Regions from separate parts of the Homo sapiens genome. Here region 2 is linked to region 1. The links are contacts of gene promoters, found by promoter capture Hi-C in blood cells and fetal thymus (Javierre and others, 2016). All regions are on one chromosome and are shown on one strand. The core of a region is centred on a gene start or on the middle of the fragment in contact, and the rest is flanking DNA. Distances in the headings are between cores, read along the strand shown.

What was found. Contacts are between HindIII fragments. The CHiCAGO score rates a contact against its expected background, and 5 or more counts as called.
Region 2: a fragment that was not itself captured here is called in contact with the fragment with the promoter of MYBL1 in region 1 in 2 of 17 cell types (fetal thymus and total CD8 T cells); the score reaches 11.2 in fetal thymus.

The regions. Positions count from the first base shown.
Region 1 is chr8:66,610,400-66,616,228 of GRCh38, forward strand. It overlaps MYBL1 (MYB proto-oncogene like 1), which reads right to left and starts at 2,819. Exons shown (of 16, transcript NM_001080416.4): 1 at 2,420-2,819. The coding sequence starts at 2,439. LOC105375884 (a long non-coding RNA gene) reads left to right here and starts at 3,150. Exons shown (of 2, transcript XR_929015.3): 1 at 3,150-3,253; 2 at 3,646-5,459. RefSeq lists a silencer at 2,586-3,105 and enhancers at 3,336-3,475, 3,526-3,605, 3,616-3,665. The HindIII fragment of the contact is 2,770 bases long and covers 1,296-4,065 here.
Region 2 is chr8:67,341,908-67,347,736 of GRCh38, forward strand. ARFGEF1 (ARF guanine nucleotide exchange factor 1) reads right to left here and starts at 1,874. Exons shown (of 39, transcript NM_006421.5): 1 at 1,257-1,874. The coding sequence starts at 1,380. ARFGEF1-DT (ARFGEF1 divergent transcript) reads left to right here and starts at 1,927. Exons shown (of 5, transcript NR_136224.1): 1 at 1,927-2,395. RefSeq lists an enhancer at 888-1,568 and silencers at 1,495-1,724, 1,905-2,164. The HindIII fragment of the contact is 177 bases long and covers 2,605-2,781 here.

The sequences.
Region 1 (5,829 bases), core at 1,569-4,068:
TTTTTTGGGTTTTTTTTTTTCAGTTCACATAGGAAACATATATTACAGGATTTACGCCTATGCTCTTAGGCAAAACTTTTATACAGCAAAGTATAGTTTTCACTTGAACGCTTAAGTGGTTGTATACTGGAGATCTCAAATTACAACTTGAAGTAACTGAATTATTTCTTTTCCCTTTCAACTATAAATTGAGTTCAAATATATTAAGATACTTAGGTAAAAGGCAAGAGAGATTTTTCCCAATGACATTATTTTTGCTTCAAAACAATTCACACTCTATCCTCTTTTGTTTTTTGTTGAAGCACAAAAGCAGAGCATCTACTATCTTCTAAGATATGTAAATCATATTTACGTGGGCAAGAAATGTAATTCAGAGTATGAAACACATTTAAGTATGAAGACTTAAGAGATACATCATTCAGAGATGATAATTTCTCCCCACATCCTCTATCTGTATACTCCCAGGGAGAGTATAGCTTCACCCCACCACATTTAATTACTCCAGATTTACGACCCTTTAAATCATTCTATCATGTTTAAATTAACTTACACAACTGTCAAGGGATAAATGTCAAAAGTACAATATTTAGATTTCAAGCTCACAGTATTCTCAATAAAACAACTTATATATGCAAACTAACATTAAGTTGTTTCTCCTTTCTTTGTCCATTATTATGAAACATACACTTCACACATATGAAATGGACAGAAAACCCATGGGGAGGGGAAGGTTCTGACATTTAAACATTCGTGTCTAGCCATAATTTTAATTTAACTAAATGCTGATGACAGAATTAGCCAAGAAACTGTTTCAAATAAGATTAACATCAATACTGATAAGTAGATAATATCACACATTAATAAACTTGTTATTGAGTTAACATATTCAATTGTCATCTTATTTTTAAATTTTTTTATATTTAAAAATTCAAAAAGCCTAAACCAGTACTTCGGCAATCATAATTACAAGAGCTTTAAATATCTATCTTTTCTGAAGATTGATGTTAATTGGGTCCTTGAAGTTCTAGAAGGGTGGTTCTTTCCTGGGTGATTTTGTCCCCCAAAAGATATTTGGCAATGTCTGGAGACATTTTTACTGTCATGACTGAGGGAAGTGGAGTGTTACTATCTCTACTGGGTAGAAGCCAGCGATGCTGCTAAACATCTCCCCATTACAAAGAATTATCTGGTCCAAGATGTCAATAGTGCAAAGGCTGAAAACAGTTTTAGAGGGGTCTGTGTACACATTTATTTCATCTCAAGAGTTTGTCCTATAACTTACTTCAAAACTAATAAGCTTACAGAGACTTAAGGATTTCTGCAGAAGCATCCTGCACACAGCAGATGCTTAACAGAAAACTAAGGAAAAAACAATTATGTATAGTTACTGCCAATTTTTAGCAGAACTCTGCAATGAATGACCCCCATTACTAAATTTCAACTTAGGAAATACATCTCTAGTTAAGATTTTGGGGCTGTGGATCTAGATAAATAAATATTTGGAAATCCTGCCAAACATCTTTTCAGGTTTATTTGATAATGCTGAAAATCGGAAGACATCCTATATTTTTGTTATCTAAGCAATTACTCCACATAATTTATGAGTAGCTGCTGTAATGGCATGTAAACGAAAATTAGATGCATAAATTCATCCTAGCACATTTTCCAGGCAAAGGTGGAAAAAAGTGCCTTACCTCTGTGGAACACTTAGGTACGGTCAGAGCCAAACACAGACACTCAAAATATTAAGTGAATCAAACACATTGTTTTATTTCAAGATCAAGCTACTAGTTGTTACTACTAGTTGTTACTATGTGACATGGTCCCAAGAGAGGATATTAAAATATACATATATACATAAAGCTGAGCATATGGGTATAGGAATTACAGAAAACATCAAAAAAGTCCTCTCAGCTATTCCCCAGAGGATTTTCCACAACGTTTCAAGATAGCCAAGTTGGCAGAGGGGTGGCCGCCCAGGTTCACCGCGGAGTTCCTATTTTGACTGTACCGTCATTCAGAAAAGAGTCGCCCGAACACCATTTTCAAGTCCTCCCGGCAGGACACAGTCAGTTTTCTCTGCGTAGCGGACTCCCTAAAAGCGCTCGACTTACCTGGCAAGAAACCTGCCTCGAAGAAGTGGCAGCATGAGGTCAGAAATCTGGACGCGCATTACGGGGAGAGTCACCGAGAAACCTGGGCATCTCTTACGTCCCGCGCCTCAAACACCCTGGTCCCCAACTCTCCACACGTCGCAGCTGCCCTCCGGTCATCGAGGCCAAGCGGCCGCGGGGACGCGGGAAGAAAAACCTCTGCCCTCGCCAGGGAGGGCCTTATGGCGGGAGGGGGCAGCGGGATAGGAAAGAGAATCTGAGCCGAGACGGCGCCGACAGGCCTGGGCGAAAGGGGTGCCACCCACCTGCGCGACCTCTTCGCCATCCTTCAAGTACCGCATAGGAGCAGGCTGGGCGGGGACGCGGGTCAGCCTCCTCCAGCCTCCGGCGAATGCTCCTTCTCCCCGATCCTCTAGCCGCTTCCCTCGCTCCCTCTGGAGGCGGCCGAGTGCGGAACGCACGTCCTCGACAGGGCAGGACGGAGGGACAGCGGGGGCGGACCGCGACCCGACCCCGACCCCGGCCCGCAGCGCCGCTCTTAGCCCCGGCCCGGCCCGGCCAGGGATACCCCCAACATGTCAGGAGGCGCGATCCCGCCCTCCGCCGGCTTCTCCCGCCGCTTGTCAGCCTCCCTGCCCTGGCCCCAGCCCGGCTCCGCCACAGGCGCCCGACCCCTGCCCTCTCCCCCGCAGCTAGCAGTTCTGCAGGGCTCGCAGTCTCCTGCAGGGTTTTGTCCGCACCGCCGAATCTCGCGCCCAGCCTCCCTCAAGAGCCGCCGTTTGAATCTGCGCACGCGGCCCTGAACCTCATTGGCTGTGGGGGCCGCACGCGAAGAAGCGAGGGCGGGGAGGGGAGAGCGCGCGCGGCTGAGGGCGGGGCTGGGGAGCTGGAAGCTGGGACTGGAACTCGCGGGAGTCGGGGAAGGAGCCGGGAGCCAGGGGGTGGGGCCGCGGGTGGGGCCGTAGGTGGCGCATGCGAGCCGAGCTGTCATAGGACCCGGAACGCGCCGAGAGGCGCACCGCGCGGGGCCTGCTGGGAGAGCGAGTTCCTGCGCTCGCCGAGGAGTGGGTCCGGAAGCGGCGCCGGAGCGGGTCCGGAAGCGGGCGGTGGAGAAGTCCAGTTGCCCCAAAATTCTTAGGGTGAGCGAACCGAGTTTCTGGCGGGGTGGGTGGTCCCGCGGCCCACCAAGGGAACGTCTCCGCAGCCTCGCCTCGGCGACAGCTCCTGGCTCCTTAGGTGTCTTCCGCCTCACTAGTTAGGATGCGCGGTCTTCAGACTTGAGACAAATCTAACCATAAATTTGCGCGGCCGTTATTTTTTAAGCAAAAATGTGAGCTATTTTTACCCAGACATCATAGTTACGAGAGTGACGAAGACTCTGGCAGGAAACCAAATATCACCTGTTTTCCTCAAAAAGCAGCAGAAGAGTGACAAGTGAAAAAAGTTCCTAGCGGGAGACGTGCTTGGAACCGGAGATAATCTGTGTCTACCGCTGGTCTTCAAGGTGCTTAATTTCGTGCCCGCTCTACAGGAAATAACGTGCGCGGCGGAGGAGCCCTGTCCTGGAGAATAACGCGTGAAGAAGACAGTGGACTGGGCATTTCGTCCAGATGAATGAGCATGGTAGTTAAGTGTAGAAGGTGACCTTCTTCCCTCTGGAGAGACCAGGGAGGGGGGAACCACCGGAGGAGTTTCTAGCGGTTGCAGCTACTTGAGGTTCCAGTCTAATAACTACGAACTGTTCATTTCAAGTAGCATTAAAGTAGATTTGCTACAGTAACAATTACACTTGGCTAAGGAAAATTTGCAAGGCAACATGGTCTATTGCATAGAGCACTGAGCCACATGTTAACACTGTAACAAACACTTGCTATTTTGAAATTTTACGCTTCATCTTTTGCAAATCAGATGCAGGTGCAGAGTGAATTAAGAGGAGCTGAATTAAGAGAGAAGCTTGCATGCACTGCTGTCAAAACCTAAACACACTGGCTTTTTTTTTTTTAACAGTTCCTTTTTTCAAGGTATAGATTCTGGGAAGGTAAGGGAAGATAAAACAGCTTTTCTTTTTCTCTCCTGTTTTTTTTTTTGTTGTTTTTTTTTTGAGACTAGGTCTCACTCTATTCCCCATGCTGGAGTGCAGTGGCACAATCATAGCTTACAGTAGCCTCGAACAGCGATCCTCTTGCCTCAGCCTCCAAAGTAGCTGGGACTACAGGCGCGCGCCACAACACCTGGCCAAGCGTTTCTTCCAGATCATTCCTTACTGGGTTGCTGGTTCAGTAAAAATAAAAAAATAAAAAATAATTTAGAAATGAGTTCCCAAATTTCATTATGTTCCCAATGTCATTTGGAATCACTGTTTCACTGTTTTCTTATTTACCCCTGGGTCGTACATTACTTCACTTATTTATATCTAACAGGAAGCAGAGCTTCTGCTATATTTTAGGCTGTATTCAGTTTTATACAGAATACCTTTTTTAGAGCTTGAAGACAAATGTTTTAGATTTTGACAGTAAAACAAATTTCCCTCATTTTTACATATAGAGAAAAGCAATTCCCAGAAAGATAACATTGTGAAATTACTGAAATCAGTTATAAAACTCAGGGCAAAGTGTGGAATTAAAGTGGTTCACAGTCATTTGAATACACATACTCAGATGTATTCTAAACTAAGATGAGTTTTTTTTTAAGCAAACGTTTAGAGATTTTATTCAGAGTATATAAAGAACTCTCAAAACTCAGTGAGAAAAAAAGCATTTAAAAAATGGGCAAAAGATTTAAACAGATTTCACCAAACGAGATATATATATACATACACACACACACACACACACACACACACACACACACACACGACAGGCATATTAAATGATGTTCCACCTCATTAGTCATTAGAGAAATGCAAATTAAACCACAATGAGATACTAGACTACACTTCTGTTAGAATGAGCGGGGAAAATGACTGACTATACAAATGTTGGTGAAGATGAAAATGCTGAGCAAGTACAACTTGCATACATTGCTGTTAGGCATGCAGAATTCAGCCATTTTGCAAAACATTTATAGTGGCTTTGTTTTGTTTGTTTTTTAATTTTTGTGGGTACATAGTAGGTGTATATATTTGTGGGGTACATGAGATGTTTTGATACAGGCATGCAATGTGAAATAATCACATCATGGAGATGGGGTATCCATCCCCTTGAGTATTTATCCTTTGTGTTACTTTTAGTTATTATAAATTTTAGTTATTTTAAAATCTACAATCAAGTTATTGACTCTAGTCAACTTGTGCTGTCAAATAGTAGGTCTTTTTTTTTTTTTTTTTTTTTTTTTTTAGACAGTCACTCTGTCACCCAGGCTGGAGTGCATTGGCGCGATCACCACTCACTGCAACCTCCACCTCCCATGTTCAAGCAATTCTTGTGCCTCAGCCTCCCAAGCAGCTGGGATTACAGGCATGTGTCACCATGCCCGGCTAATTTTTGTGGTTTTTGTTTTTTGAGACAGAGTCTCACTCTGTCACCCAGGCTGGAGTCCAGTGGCATGATCTTGGCTCACTGCAACCTCTACCTCCCGGGTTCAAGAAATTATCCTGCCACCCCAGGCTAATTTTTTGTATTTTTAGTAGAGATGGGGTCTCACCATGTTGACCAGCCTGGTCTGGAACTCCTGACCTCAGGTGATCCTCCCGCCTCGGCCTCCCGAAGTGCTGGGA
Region 2 (5,829 bases), core at 1,443-3,942, 730 kb after region 1:
TTTAAGATGAAATTTCTTCGACGTTTTTCATATTACCAATTTTAACGATCTAGGAAAAAAAAACTACAGTATATTACAGCAAATTAAATGGTAGTCTTCCATTTAATAATTAAAAGCTAATTTTAAGTTGTCTAGACTCCTTAACTCTAGCATACTTTAAGTTATTGTGGATTTTTCCCCTTTCAAGAATGCTTTTTTGTAAAGCCCATTTAACAAGCTTCCTTTTCTTGCCAATTTGACCTAGTGTATTTCCAGTGCTATAAAGTGTAAACATTAGGAATGTATCTTTGTGTTAAATGTTCTGGTCTCTCAAACGATTTCAACTTTGATGGATGCAATAGATCTAACAATGTTCCCCCTTTAACAACTCCTCATCTGCCTAACCTCATAGGTAGGAGGTATTGTTTGGATTTTCCCTGCTGCGGGCTTCATTACACTAGATCTCTTCCATCTGAACTATAAATCACAATTCAAGCTTGAGAGCAGCTGCCACTGTCCAGACATGTGGCTGGTGGGTGTCATTGTCTTTTTCATTTTCCTCATTTCAAACCCTCCCTTCCCTTGTCACCTAAAGCCATTTTATCTAAAGGTTCTTTGCTTCCCTGCTTTCATGCCGCCACCCCCACCCTCACCCCTTAACCACCGGTCTTGTTCTTCCAGGTCAGCCCAGTCAGATACAATATTACTCTATGTTTTTCCTGTGGCGGAGGCGGAGAGATGTCAGAACGGGCTGCACCTCTTGCAAACCCCTTCTCAAGACTGTCAACAAGGAAACAACTTCAGCAGCCTATCTCCCCAAAGTACCTCGCCAAACGAAAAAGTTATTGTTAATTATGATACGGAACCTTTCCCACACCCAATCTTGACATACCAGCCCCACCTCAATTTCCAAGCTAATAAACAACAGCTCATCTTCTGCTTCATCACAAAGGGTGGTATCCAGTCCGCACCTCACGGACCACCAACAAAATCCTCTCACTCTCAAGTCGATCCCTCGAACCCAGGTGCCCCGCGATCCTAAGCCCTGCCGCGTTTCCCGAGCCCAGCTCACTGCCCTTCCTCCTCTACCCCGCCTCTGCCCCACATCCAGCCGAGTTCCTGTCAACTCCAGACAGGGAACAGAGGGCTCCGCGAGGGCTTCCCGAGGTCAGAGGCGCGGGCCTCGGGCAAGCCCCGGGCGACCCCACCCCCCCACAGGCGCCCCCCTCCCCGCCCCACAACAAGCACCCCATCCCCCGGGCCTCCTCCCCGCTCACCTAACGCCACCTCGCAAGCTTTGCGCAGCTGGGAGTGATGCGCCTTCTTCACTTCCTTGTCGGCCAATATCTTCTCCAGAGCCCGGGTCAGGAACATGTTCTTCGTCTTCTTCCCCTCATACATGGACGCAGAGAAGGAGGCGGCGGCTCGTCCGACCCGCGGCTCCCAGCGGCTGGAGGGGAGGAGGAGGAGAGGAAGGAAGAGAAGAGAGAAAGGAGAGGGGGTGGAGGTGGGGGATTGGAGGCGTGGAGGGCAGCGGCAGGATCAGGAAGGGGCGGGCGAGCGGGACCAGCCGCGGTGTCGGCGAAGGGCGTCGAGGTCCTCGCCGCCCCCAAGAAGCCGTACCTCGAGGGCCGCGCCCGTCGGGCCTCCGCTTCTCCCGGCCCGGGGGTCGCGTCCCGGCCGCCCCTCTCACTCGTCCCTCCGGCCCTGGTGGCGGTGAGGGAGCCCGGCCCGGGCGGCTGTCTGCCGGGAACTGAGGGACGAGGTGGCGGCGGCTCTCAGAGGCACCGCGAGAGAAGGGCTACCCTGGCTACTGTGGGGATTAGCACCCGCCGCGGCCGCGAACTGGCCCCCATCACCGCCGACCTGCCCCGGCCGCCATGTTGGGAGGAAACGACGCGTCACGCAGCGGCCGAACGGCTGCAGACGAGGAAGCGGCGGCGGCGGCGGCGGCGGCGGCGCTCCCTGCCCAGAGCTGCCGCGGCGCCGGGAGGCTGGGGGCGGAGGGCGGCGCGGGAGGAGCGGCCCGAGCCGCAGCGCTACGGCGGCCCGGCGGGGCCTCCAGCGTTCGCCTGCAGGGCGGCGTGGGGCGTGGCGGGCCTCTGGTGGCACCGCGCCCAGCACTTCGGGCTCTTGGTGGCGGCCGAGCTGCGGGACCAGAGATCCCCCCACTCGGCACCCCTGCTCCTGCCGAGTGAACAGGACTCCTGGCTACTCTGCACTGGCTTTCTAACTTTCTGATGGGGGTGCAGTCCTTTGCATTCCAGGGGTCACAGCAACACCCGCATCGCCCGTTCTCAGCCGCAGGGTCTCCGCCTGCATCACTCGACTCTAAAATTTCCTTCCCTAGTGCACGGAACTGCTGTCCAGGACTCTGCTCTCCGACTACCTCAGGGAGGATTCTGTTTTGGGAAAAGTAAGCCAAAACCTATTGATAAGGGTTCAAAAATGTTTCACTTTTTTCTCTCTCTGTCGGATAAATCGGTCAACTCTAGATTTCAGGTCCCTTCTGAATTGACTCAGTTAAGGTGAATGGTTGTGAATGAGGTCCCTTAGAGTTCTGTGTTTCTGTGCCTTTAATACTAAGATTTAGTCCAGGACATGTAAACCAGTTTAGAATGGAAAAGCTTTAAGTACAAACAGATTAACACACGTGACCATGTGTTTGCTTTAGTCTGAGTGTAGAACTCAAATTTCTGCAGTATTTAATTTCTACAGTTTCCTTCTGAGCAGAAAAAGAATACCATAAAAATATTTGCAAACATTATATATGGTGATCTAGGGTCACGTCTCCAAGTTCTAAGCTTCTGTGGCTCCACGCACACAGGTTCCCTAATGTTTACTATGCATCTGTCACTGTTCTGTTCTATTAGATTGCCTTAACTATAGGCTTGTCCTAACGTAACCATCCAAACCTAAGGAAGGAGAAACTTAAGTGACTCTGTGAACTTAGTGAAGTGACCAGATTTAGGAAGGCTAAAACCCAGAGGAAATAAAATGGAAAACTTGAAGGTGACAAATTAAAGTGGAAAAATAGATTAATTTTTTTAAACTTTATTGTCCTGAGAAACAAATCTATAAATTCATTAATTTTATTTTAGAGACTATCTCTAGATTCCTGGAAATGAAGGATTCATTATACTCTTAGATCAGATATAATACTGATTTCTGTGTATACGTTAATAAACTTTTTTAGAACAAGTTCCATTTCTTTTATTTTTTTCTTCCCTTCTTTCACAGGTGTTGATCCATTTCTAATTCATCTTTGTTTCTTCATAATGGAGTGTTGTGCCAGGTACTGTTGAGGGTACTAGCTGATCACCAAACCCATTTACTCTTCTTTCTTAGTATAGAATTGCATTGTCCAGCCTCCCTTGAAGTTAGGTGTAGCCATCCAGGCTTAACCTATTGTTAAAAAACCAACAAGAAATTCCCACAAGCAATCTTTCATGCTGTTTCCCTTTTTTTTTTTTTTCTTTTGGTAGAGATGGCATCTCACCATGTTGAACTCGTGGCCTCAAGCGATCCTCCTGCCTCAGCCTCCCAGTGCTGAGATTACAGGCATAAGCCACCATGCCCAGTCTCTCTTTTCCCTTCTATGGCCACAGCTGAAGATGGCAGAACCACAAGTTAGGAGTCTTAGTTTCTGAATTGGAACTCTTGGAGAAGAACCATCTAGAATAACTATTTTGTACTTTACATGAACGAAGCAGACTCTTCGGTTATGTTTAGCTGTCAGCTTTATCGTAAAACATACTTGGGATTCATTGATGAACAAGACAAGCTGGCACCTGTAGTCCCAGCACTTTGGGAGGCCAAGGCAGGAGAATGGCTTGAGGCCGGGATTTGCAGATGAAACTGGGCAACGTAGCAAGACACTGTCTTTACAAAAAATAAAGAAAAATTAGCCAGGCACGGTGGCATCCACCTGTAGTTGCAGCTGCTCAGGAGACTGAGGAGGAAGGATCGCTTGAGCTCAGGAGTTCGAGGCTGCAGTGAACTATGATATGATAGTGCCACAGCATTCATAATCATCTCATCTGCTTGCCTTGCTTGTTGATTGGTTGCATGTTTCTCTCATAAGTGCAGGGACCTCATATCTCTGTCTATTCACTTCTGTGTGCCCATCATCTATTATATTGCTGGCATAGAGAAGGCCTTTGCTATAAACTTATAGAAACTTGGATAAATGAAAGGCACCAGGCTAAGACAAGCATGATACCTGCCCTTTTGGACCTTACAGTATAGAGTAGGGAAAAGATATTAAGTCAGTAGTGAATATACAATTACAAATCTGTTGAGTATGATTAAAGAATAGAGTGCTGTGAGAGAAGGGAGAAGTAAATTAAATTGAGACCTGAAAGAAGAGTAGACATTAGCCAAACTAAGTCATGAAGAACTTTCCAGGCAAAGTCTCTTGGGGTAGGGGGAAGCTTGGCAAGTTTCAGGAAACAAAACAAGGCAGTGTGGCTGAAAGGATCAAGGAGAATGGTGCCAGTCAGGATGAAGAGGGAGCTAGGAACCAGATCATTCAGACTCTCGTAGGCCATGTTAGGGGGTTGCAATTTCATCGTAATAACAATGGAAATTCATTGAAAGGTTTTAAAAGTGGGGGATAAAGTGATCAAATTGGTGATTTTAAAATAATCCCTCTGTTACATGGAGAATGGATTGGAGGGGGAGAAGTGAGGATGTGGCAAAACATTTTAAGAAATTTATTACAACAGCGCAGGATGGCTTGGTCAGGTCCAGGGCCACCAAGCAAGGTTGTGGAGATCGTGGCACAAGGGAGCAAGTGTGGCTGAAATCCAGCCCCACTGTCTGCCCAAAAGAAGAGGCTTCTTTCACTAATTTGCATAAAGGTTAGCCCAGAAATGACAGTGGTAGCATGGAGATGGAGCAAAGTAGACAGATTTGGGATATACTTTGGTGGCAGAATAAACCGGACTTAATTAACTGGAGTGCAGGTTAGAGAGAGAAAGAGGTCACAAATGAATACCAGGTTTCTGCTGGGAACCAGTGAACAGTTGGAAATGCCATTTGTAGAGATAGGCTAGATGGAAGATTTGAGGGTAAAGAGTGTAGTTGTCAGTTTCAGAAGAATAAACTCCTCTGAGATATGACCTAACCCTCCCAGAAGGAATGATTTGCATCTTCCTTTGGGAGGACAACTCATCCTCTTCCCTTGCTGGGTTTACCCAAAAGGTGGTGGTGCTTGAGGGTGGAGGGGGGTAGGAGTAGTCTTACGAGATGGGCACTCCTATCCACTTGAAACTCAAGATACTAACTCAGACCTGTAGCAAAAATAGAGTAAGACTCTAGAATAAAGCTGATGCTCTTGGATATTTTCAATCTTTTATTGACAGGTACACAGGGAGTGGCAAAGGAGATTTTTACATGAAATTATGAGTACAGACCAGGCACTGTGGCTCATTCCTGTAAACCCAGCACTTTGGGAGGCTGAGGCGGGTGGATCACCTGAGGTCAGGAGTTCAGGACCAGCCTGGCCAACATGGTGAAACCCCGTTTCTACTAAAAATACAAAATTAGGTGGGCGTGGTGGCGGGTGCCTGTAATCCCAGATACTCAGGAGGCTGAGATAGGAGAATCGCTTGAACCCAGGAGGCGGAGGTTGCAGTGAGCCAAGATCATGCTGCTGCACTCCAGCCGGAGCAACAGAGTGAGACTCGATCTCAATTAAAAAAAAAAAGAAAAGAAATTATGAGTACATTCCCCTGTATATATATATTTTTTACTTTTTATTATTAATGTTGTTTGGTGCTAATATACAGCTATGTAAATAAATGCAATCTCAGTATTCACTTGCACTTGGCTCCTTGCAGTTTTCAA